Linked DNA regions of Homo sapiens: region 2 is linked to region 1. The links are contacts of gene promoters, found by promoter capture Hi-C in blood cells and fetal thymus (Javierre and others, 2016). All regions are on one chromosome and are shown on one strand. Each heading gives the region's core, a stretch centred on a gene start or on the middle of the fragment in contact. The rest is flanking DNA. Distances are from core to core; before and after follow the strand shown.

What was found. The method cuts DNA at HindIII sites, captures the fragments that hold promoters and counts their contacts. A CHiCAGO score of 5 or more calls a contact.
Region 2: a fragment that was not itself captured here is called in contact with the fragment with the promoter of MAP2K6 in region 1 in 1 of 17 cell types (total CD4 T cells); the score reaches 7.5 in total CD4 T cells.

What each region holds. Positions count from the first base shown.
Region 1 is chr17:69,412,799-69,417,614 of GRCh38, forward strand. MAP2K6 (mitogen-activated protein kinase kinase 6) reads left to right here and starts at 1,899. Exons shown (of 12, transcript NM_002758.4): 1 at 1,899-2,202. The coding sequence starts at 2,187. The HindIII fragment of the contact is 8,167 bases long and covers 1-3,376 here.
Region 2 is chr17:73,224,088-73,228,903 of GRCh38, forward strand. It overlaps VCF1 (VCP nuclear cofactor family member 1), which reads right to left. Exons shown (of 4, transcript NM_001098832.2): 2 at 3,078-3,177. Among named protein-coding and RNA genes, the nearest start is that of VCF1, 5.9 kb to the right of the region's middle. The HindIII fragment of the contact is 3,043 bases long and covers 342-3,384 here.

The DNA.
Region 1 (4,816 bases), core at 649-3,148:
GTCAGTAAAGGGGACCAACTTAAGTAAATTAATGTTAGTCTCACAACCTATTGCATATTTAAGATTTGATTTGCTGGTTTGCAGCTGAAATAAGACGGCTTCCTTCCCTCTAATGCATCCCTTATGCAGATGGTCCTGGCTTCCAGCATCCTAAATACAATTCCAATAGTTTTCATTAGTAATCATCAAATCTAGCTGAATCTTCTTTCAAAGTGCCTCTTTTTGCCTTTCACTACTGACCTAACCTATCTCTAGCCTCTCCCAGTTCCAACCCACCTTGATTGCTGAGGGCAAATTTACTTTCTTAAAACAATGCTTGGATTAAGTTACGCCCCTTTGCAAGACCCTTTCACCTCCCCGCAAGTACCTGCAGAATAAAGTCCAAACCTCTAGCCCACCTTTTAAGGCCCTGTGGAGTCCTCACCTGTAAATCTCCCCCGCCCTCACCACTCCTGCACACAAGGCAACAAGGTCTCCTTGGCAGCTTCTGAGTAAGGTTGTCCTTATTTCTGCCACAGTGCTTTGTCCACACCTCCTTGAATTCCTCAATTCCTCCCTCTGTCTTAAAAGAACATTTCTGAGTCTGTCTGCTCCATGAAGTATAAGTCCGAGCTCATTTTTGCCCATGCCCTGCTCACTCCTCTCCATTCCTTGCAGTGAATTGTGCTAAGCATCTCTGGCTTCCTTGTGAAAAAGGTGATGCCGTTCTCCATCAGGGTGCTGTGTACCCACTATGTGTGAGCGGTACAGAATGAATGAACATCCCAGGGCCCTAGAAAGGCGCCTGGCACATCCTGGACACTCAACAAGTATCTTTTAATTTTAATGAATAAATTCAAGATATTCGACTGTATTCATTTTCCACCCACTTTCCCCCTAGGCCAGGGACTCTCCTCCCAGGTGAGAAAAAATCATCTAGATACCTTAATTTTGATAAAGTTAGCGTTGATGTATAAAAAGCAGAACTTCCTCTGTAACCCTGTGAGAAATGAGAAGCCTCCAATCTTCTTCCCCACACCTACCCCCTACTGAGTTTCGGGTTCCTTGGAAATAACTGACCTGGATTGTTTCTGACAAAATAAAACTTTGCATCTTCTCCACAGAGCAAAGGTAACCTTACCTCCAGCCAACCCAATCATCCATACATTTTTCTTACTAGAAAAAATGTTTTTAAAAATGGAGGTGTGGCCGGGCGCGGTGGCTCACGCCTGTAATCCCAGCACTTTGGGAGGCCGAGGTGGGCGGATCATAAGGTCAGGAGTTCGAGACCAGCCTGGCTAAATGTTGACACCCCGTCTCTACTAAAAATTAGCCGGGCGTGGTGGCGCATACCTGTAATCCCAGCTACTTGGGAGGCTAAGGCAGGAGAATTGCTTGAACCCGGGAGGCGGAGGTTGCAGTGAGCAGAGATCGCGCCACTGCACTCCAGCCTGGGCGACAGAGCGAGACTCCCTCTCGGGAAAAAAACAACAACAACAACAACAAAAAAACCCCCAAACAAACAAAAAACGGAGGTGTGAGGGTAAAACGTCTACAGGCAAGAACAGCACAACAGGTGCTGAGCTGCAAAATCAACACACTAAACTCCCAAACAGACCTTCTCGACAAGCCAAAAGCTCTTTAGCTAACCTAATATTCTTTAGCTGTTGTTTCAGAGGCTTTTCGAGAACAAAACTGCCGCCCCGTCTTGGCCTTGCCGCTTTTCACCCATCACTCTACTGAGTGTGTGTCTGACTTGTTTATCTGGACGCAATCTTTGTCGCACCCAGTTATCTCGCTCAGCGACCGGGGCGACCACGTTTCCTTAAATCAGAGCCCCGTGGACTCCGCCGGAGAACTACATTACCCAGCGGCCTTCGCGCCCTTCGCAGGAAGGACGTCTGCGCACTAAGATACTCAGTTCCAAGTTTGGAGCTTTTAGCTGCCAGCCCTGGCCCATCATGTAGCTGCAGCACAGCCTTCCCTAACGTTGCAACTGGGGGAAAAATCACTTTCCAGTCTGTTTTGCAAGGTGTGCATTTCCATCTTGATTCCCTGAAAGTCCATCTGCTGCATCGGTCAAGAGAAACTCCACTTGCATGAAGATTGCACGCCTGCAGCTTGCATCTTTGTTGCAAAACTAGCTACAGAAGAGAAGCAAGGCAAAGTCTTTTGTGCTCCCCTCCCCCATCAAAGGAAAGGGGAAAATGTCTCAGTCGAAAGGTAAGAGGCTGTTTGCATTAGTTGCAAAAATGCAAAGGGTTGTGCATGCATTTATGAATGCATGGATGCAATTTTCGCCTGGCGAGTGCATTTTTAAGTTTGAGGTTTTCCACAGCTCAGTTGCATTTCCTGTTTAGTATGTGTCTTTTTTTGCAGACACAGAGAGTTCCTGTAAGGCAGGGCTTGCAGTTCAGCTGTGCATTGACGTTATTTGCATTCTTCTGCTAGGATTACTGAGCTCTTTTTGCCTTTTGCACAGTCAGGAGAGACAGAGCAGGTTGGTAGCGTCTAAATGTGCAAGGCTTTATATAATTGTAAAATTCTTTACTATGCACAGATATTGTAAGTAATTTTGTATGCAACAGGAATAGAAACTTTTAAAAACTCTATAGGTGAAGATGAAAGGTAAAACTTGAGTTAAACTACTAGGAAATTAATGTAATCTTATATTCTTTGGGGGAAATAGACCGTTGCGGTGCCAGTATTTAGCTAAATTTCCATTGATATCGCCTTGAACATTAGGTAACTTTTGATTTTTAAAGGAAGTAAAGGTGAAGGGTGAATAACAGCATATCACAAAAAAGCAGACGAGTCTTGCTCTTCTGAGATTTTGCACTTTACACCAATTGCTTATTGGCTCGCAAAATTTAGAAGCAGCAGTGAAGACCTAATGTTTTATGTCTGCCCATTTGGGGGATGCTTTGCATCTTGGGGGAAAATATTGGGGGTAAAACTGTACTTTTAAGCATTACAGTAGTGTGAAGGGACTGCACTGTTTCATTGACAAGCATAATGAAATATTTTAAGTGTGTAACTGCGTGTATTTAGTCAGCTGTAATAGGTTGGAAGTTCACGTTATGGTTGTTTTCTTTATGTTCTTTTATTTTCTTTTCTTAATTTTTGTTTTTAAACACAGTTGTATTTTGCAGGCTTAATGTCACCCTGGGAAGGGGATTTAAAAAATTCCTGATATGACATCAAAGAGCAGACTAGGTGCTGTCAGGTGCCCCTGGGACCCCAAGTCACTTGTTTCAGAACAATTGTTTCTTTACCATAGAGAAAGCATATGCCATATGAGAAGTATGGGATGATGAAGAGAGGTGTTAGATACTATTGAATTAGGCTACCCGGGGCACTCTTTGAGTAAGACATGGTGAAATTAAAGGGTCTAACAAGCTTTTTGCTACTTTTTTGGGAGGGAGTGTGGGGAGTTGTTGCACCGCTTTTTAATTCTACCTGATGGGAGTCATATATCTCAGCAGCCCAAGAAGGAAGTAGTAATCTCAAGCATTCAAAGTAGCACTCTGCTTTTCTTTGAGTATTAGGGGAGAATGGAAATCTGAAAAGTTAAGAGTGCTGAAGAACCTAGGAATTGACATATCAGGTGGAGATGTTCCTCAAGTGGGGAAAACCTAAAAATCTCCTTATTGAGTAGAGAAATAATAGTTCAGAAGAGGCAGTCCATGCTTTGATGTATTAAAGAGATGGCATTTAGTTACTTTGTATTTGGTAAACATTCGCTCATTCATTCAATTCAGTTTAATATATGTGTAATATATTGTGATATGCATGTATATACATATGTATGTGTGTATATATATGCATGTATATGTATGTATTGTGTGTGTATGTGTGCACATGATTTAGGGACACACAAAAATATTTAAAATGAAGTTTTTCCTTCGGGTTGGTGAAAACAAGAATGTAAGGAAATCATTATAATACAAGATAATAGGACAGGTATTGAAGAGAAATGGTGCTATTGGAGTTTAAAAATGGAAGTGATTTATCTATTTGGGGGATAGTCAGGAAGGTTTATGAAGAGGGTGGTGTTTACTGTGATCTTATCTTTGGACTTTAGGGTCTAAACTAAATCAGGCTCCTTTTTGCATATTTTTGGGCTCACTATGAACGTGGCTCCCTCTTAGTAGAGCCAGTTTTTGAGTTGAGAAGCCAAAGGAGATATTAGCACTGCACTCTTCCCTATGGATGTGTTTACAATGGATCAGGTACTGGTGGTCCTTCAAATCAATTCCCATTTACCCAGATGAGTTTTCTTAATTGGATTCTGCTTGGAAAGTACATCTGGAATGAACATGGGGTTCTTGTCCGAAAGGAAAATTATTGGTAGAAAGAAGTGGGTGATCATTTTAGAAATGGCAAAAGAGCCAGCCGCCTTGGCCTGGACTTTAAATGTGGAATTGGCCTTATTCAGCTACGCTATTCTCAAATGGCCAAAATACTTTTTGCAGTACCAAACTTCTTTTTTAATATTCTAACCCAAGAAATGGGAGGAAAAGTGAAAAGTGGATACAATCTCATAGTATTGAAGAATTTAACAATATGTTCAATTCAAGGACCTTTACGAACTTTCTAGATCACTATAATTCGGTTTAACAGACCTCTAATTTAAGGCACAGCAGAGGCAAAGGAATTACAGACTCTCTGGAAGCTGGAAGGACTGGGTTACTGCTCTACAGCCTTACCAACAGTGAGATTCCGAGAAAGAATTTCTTAAAAAGAAATTTTGTTTTCCACAGTTGTAACTTTAGGTGGTATGCTTTTCAGCTTGTTTATATTAGCTGTCTGGGGTTGAGTTGACATTTTTCAAATA
Region 2 (4,816 bases), core at 613-3,112, 3.8 Mb after region 1:
GAAGGTAGGGGAGAGAAGGGGAGGGGAGAACAGAGGGAAGGAAGGAAGGGAATTCTAGCCAGGCATGGTGGCTCAAGTCTGTAATCCCAGCATTTTGGGGAGGCTGAGGTGGGAGGATCGCTTGAGCCCAAGAGTTCACGACCAGCCTGGGCCATATAGTGAGACGTCGTCTCTCCAAAAAAAAAAAAAAAAAAAAAACCTTAAAAAATTAACCCAGCATGGTAGCATGTGCCTGTAGTTCCAGCTACTTGGGAGGCTGATGTAGGAGTATTGCTTGAGCCTGGGAGGTAGAGGTTGCAGTGAGCTGAGATCACACCACTGCACTCCAGTCTGGGTGACAAAGCTTATTCATTCAGGGAAAACATAGGAAATGGTTTCTCTTACATAACTTAAGTTTCAAGGAAACTGACCTCATGGCCCTACCTCAGAATTAAAAGAAAACATTTTCATTAGTAATGTTATTAATAAAATATTTTGTCTAAATTGTTAATATAATTAAAAATGAATTGTTTTATTTTCCCTTTTATACACAATCATCAAAAACCAGCCAAATGTCCCTAAACTTGATTTTTTGCTGCTACAAACATAATCATTTATTCCAGTAGTGAAAACTTCATTATTTGGGGCTTAACTTTCCATTTTAAAAGATATTCCCTCTGCCTTTTGCTTCTCTGGCTCTCTCATCATTCACTTGTCCTTGTTACTTGTTAATACCACTGCCAGGAAGCACAGCGCAGCACAGCACAGCACAGCACAGGACAGGACAGGACAGGACAGCACAGGACAGGACAGCACAGCACAGGACAGGACAGGACAGGACAGGACAGGACAGGACAGGACAGGACAGCACAGCACAGCACAGCACAGGACAGGACAGCACAGCACAGCACAGCACAGCACAGCACAGGACAGGACAGGACAGCATAGGATAGGACAGGACAGGACAGCACAGGACGGCACAGCAGGCTATTCTGGTCAATGTTCAGTAAGCAAGGCTGAAACTAATGGTTGTAACACCCCATTAGGTGATCTACCAGTGAGTTCAGACAGAAACTACCAGTAATGACCTTAAACGATAAGGAAGACAATCTAGTCCTTCCTTCAGATAATGATTACGGAGTGGCTCAACAACTGAATTTCTTTGGACAAGTAAGGACAAGCTCAGCTAGAGAACCCAGGAGGTTGAGTAACAAGACGTTGTTTTCTTCTGTGAGACCAATGCACGGATTTTAGAAAGAGAGTAAAGGTCATTTTGTACCAAAAACTAAATAAATAAATAAATAAAATTTAAAAATCTACAATATCTGCCTTACTTAAGAGATCAGAAATGTTAATTTTTTTAAAAAAGGATGACAATTTCTTTCTTTTTTTTTAACCAAGAGACAAAAGCAAGAAAAAGATGGCAATTTCTATTGCTGTTCTCAGGCTTCAAAACTGGCAGATACGGGAAAAAAACGTTAATACAGAGAGTTAGACCTACCATACCCTTGACTGAAATGAACATCATATAGCAGGACTTACATACAGACACAAGTAAGGAAATACTGATGGCCAACACCATAGAAGTAATCTTTGCATACTCTTTTAATGAATAGTCTTACAATTCAAAAGAATGGAAACTCAATTACTATTACAGGGTTTTATCATTAGATATTCATGGTAGCCTCTAATCTTGTTTTCTTTCATCCCTGAGATTCCCAACTATTACATTAAACAAAGCTCAATTACCTTTCTGATAATCATTTTTTAAAAAGAAAAGAAAAAAGCAAATAGGAAAAAAATATATATATATATAATATATATATATATATATTTTTTTTTTTTTTTTTTCTGAAACGGAGTCTTGCTCTGTTGCCCAGGCTGGAGTAAAACGGCACGATCTCAGCTCACTGCAACCTCTGCCTCCTGGGTTCAAGCCATTCTCCCACCTCAGCCTCCCAAGTAGCTGGGATTACAGGCGTGCACCACCACACCCAGCTAATTTTTTGTATTTTTAGTAGAGATGGGGTTTCACCATGTTGGCCAGGCTGGTCTCGAACTCCTGACCTCGTGATCTGCCCACCTTGGCCTACCAAAGGGCTGGGATTATAGGGATGAGCCACTGCGCTCGGCCAGGAAAATATTTGAAGAGGAAAAACAGCTATAGAAACTCAGGTCTCCACACAGAAGGATTCTACTCTGCACTTGTTCACTGTCTCTGAATGACTGTTACCTACATGAAAGTTCCTGATTTTTCCCCCTTGGGGGAGTTACTTTGAATTGCTGGCAAAGACAGACTGGATATAGGTCAAATCCTATTATCAGGAACTAATTAAAGTACAAATTATTTGGGTGTGGGAGAATTCTACTGTGAGTTATGAGGCTAGGGCTCTTTGTTGTTGAGGCTTTTCTCTTAGTGTGACAACTGTTAAGGGTCAAAATCTCTAGGTGCATAACTTAATAGCAGCATTACTTTATATTGGTTTCCTTTCCCCAGCACAGAGCAGCCTTCCAATTGCACAGAAAATGTATCCTCAGTCTGCGTACTGAAGCACTCTTTCATGAAATCAAAAATTGTAAAAAAGTTCCAGAACACCCAACTCCCCTTCCCTCTCACCACAGGAGCTCTTTTCACAACAAGATAATGAAAAGTAAAAACACTGAGAAATGGGATTCTGCATACACATACCTTACATATTTTACATGCTTAAAGTTTCTCTTAAAAGGCATTTGAATTGAAGCAACAAAATATGTTTATCTTAAGGACAATTCATGGTTTATAAACTACCAGAAAAGAAGTTCGCTGCTGAAATACAAAACAGTGAGTTCAAACATAGGCTTTCAAAAAGCCACGAAATTTCTAACAAATACAAATGAGTGTGTACATATATGACTATGTGCACATATGTACTGTTTTGCTGGGGACAGGGTACACAGCTTCCTCAAAGGGACCCTGATTTGGAAACAGAAAGGTTAAACCAGTATAATCAACTAAGGTCATTTTAAATTACTGTTTAAGTAAATTTAATTACACAGCAGATACTAGGTTATTTAACTCAAGCAGTGAAAACAACAGACTATGTGACCACACTTCCTACCTCTGTGTCCCAGGAATCCTGAAAGACAGGGTTTCTGCTACTTCTTTTGGTCTGGGGGGGAAGATGGTTGTCTTCTTCGTTGCCATTCCTTCTCCTTTTCCTGAAATTAAATCACAAGGAGAAAAAAAAAAAAACCCAAACAACCGATGTTTTGGACACTTGAATTGCAAACCATAACAACATATAAATTTGCCCTCTGGCCTGAGAAAACATAATTCAGCATATGATATCCCAATAGGTTATCAGTTGGAAGTACAGCATCACTGGACACTAAGAGCAAAAATACAAGACAGCAGCAGCGAGGTCAAGCTTAAGTTAGTAAAACTCATTTCTAAAAAGAAGCTTAACAATTTTAAATGTCTGTTGGGACTGAAACAAGAACAGGAAGAGGTTAATGACTAAGCTTTCAACCTCTAACCTAATTAAGGTTTTCTTCTTTTTACACTCCCTGAAATTAGGATTCCGAGTTACCTAATTGTACTCCCTTCCATATGACAACATTTGATATAAGAGTGGCTGCCTTTGCCTATTTGCCCTGAAAACCCTTATAAAAGTACCTCTTGGTCACATTCACCTGCTTATTCTGGCAACACTAGCCGGTATTATGATATAACAATTACTTCACTAGATTGTTACTATGAGATGATAGCATAAGCTGCTTAAAATTTCCAGGTTTAAAGAAAAATCACACATCTTTCTTAGGCAAGTGTTCTCGGACATGCAAGAAAGACCAAATTTGCATGTACTCTATTTAAGAATTATGTGCTGTCAAAACGATTTCTGAACCTGTTAGAAAACAGAAATAAATTAAAGGAGGTATAATTTTCAGTCAAATTGCCCGGAACTGTACTGTCCAATACGGTAGCCACTAGCCACATATGGTTATTTACATTTAAATTAACTAAAATTAACCATCCAGTTCCTAGGTCACAGCTGCCCTGTTTCTAGTGCTCAGTGGCCACGTGTAGCTAGTGGCTACTGCACTGACCAGCACAGATAAAGGACATTTCCGTCACTGCAGAACGTTCTCCGGAGCAGCACAGGCTAGAGGTCTGTATGTACATGGCAGCAGCACCTATTACAAAACCCTTGAAGTTTCAGCTTTCTATAGTTAAGAGACAAAAGGCTAGTGTGGACACACAGCTCTTGGAAAGCATGTACATTTGGAGGATATAGTGTCTTCTAAATAATTATACACTTTCTATGAGAGTAGGGTGGCTTACAGTGGCAGGCCTTTAATCCTAAAGGTTTTGAGTTGAGGTTTGAATATTAGAGAAAATAAATGATCACCCTAAGCTCACTTCTCTGTACTCTGCAACATTCTGAATAGGTCTAACTTTAATAATGAGTATGGATCCCAGCTTAAGTTTGGAATAATAAAGAGTGTGTGGTTCTGATAAAGCTTCAACCATCCTGCACTGGGCTATGTAATTTACTTCATTCTAAGACATTTCTGCTCCCCACCTTTCTCTTAGGAGATCAGATCTTAGCTGCACATTACTTTGAAGTAGTTGGAGGTTAAAAAAAAATAGATGAATATCAGGTTTTAATAATCATTAAATGGGTGTGCTTTTATCATAAATTTGAACCAAGAAACTGCTAATTTCATCCTAATATGATCAGGGAATTTGAGTGGGAGTGTTCTGCAGAGGCAAAGCAATGTCTGCTGGGAGGCCAGTCGACACCCAAAGAGAAAGTCATTGAGTAAGTAGCAGCTGCTGGTCCTCACACACCCATTT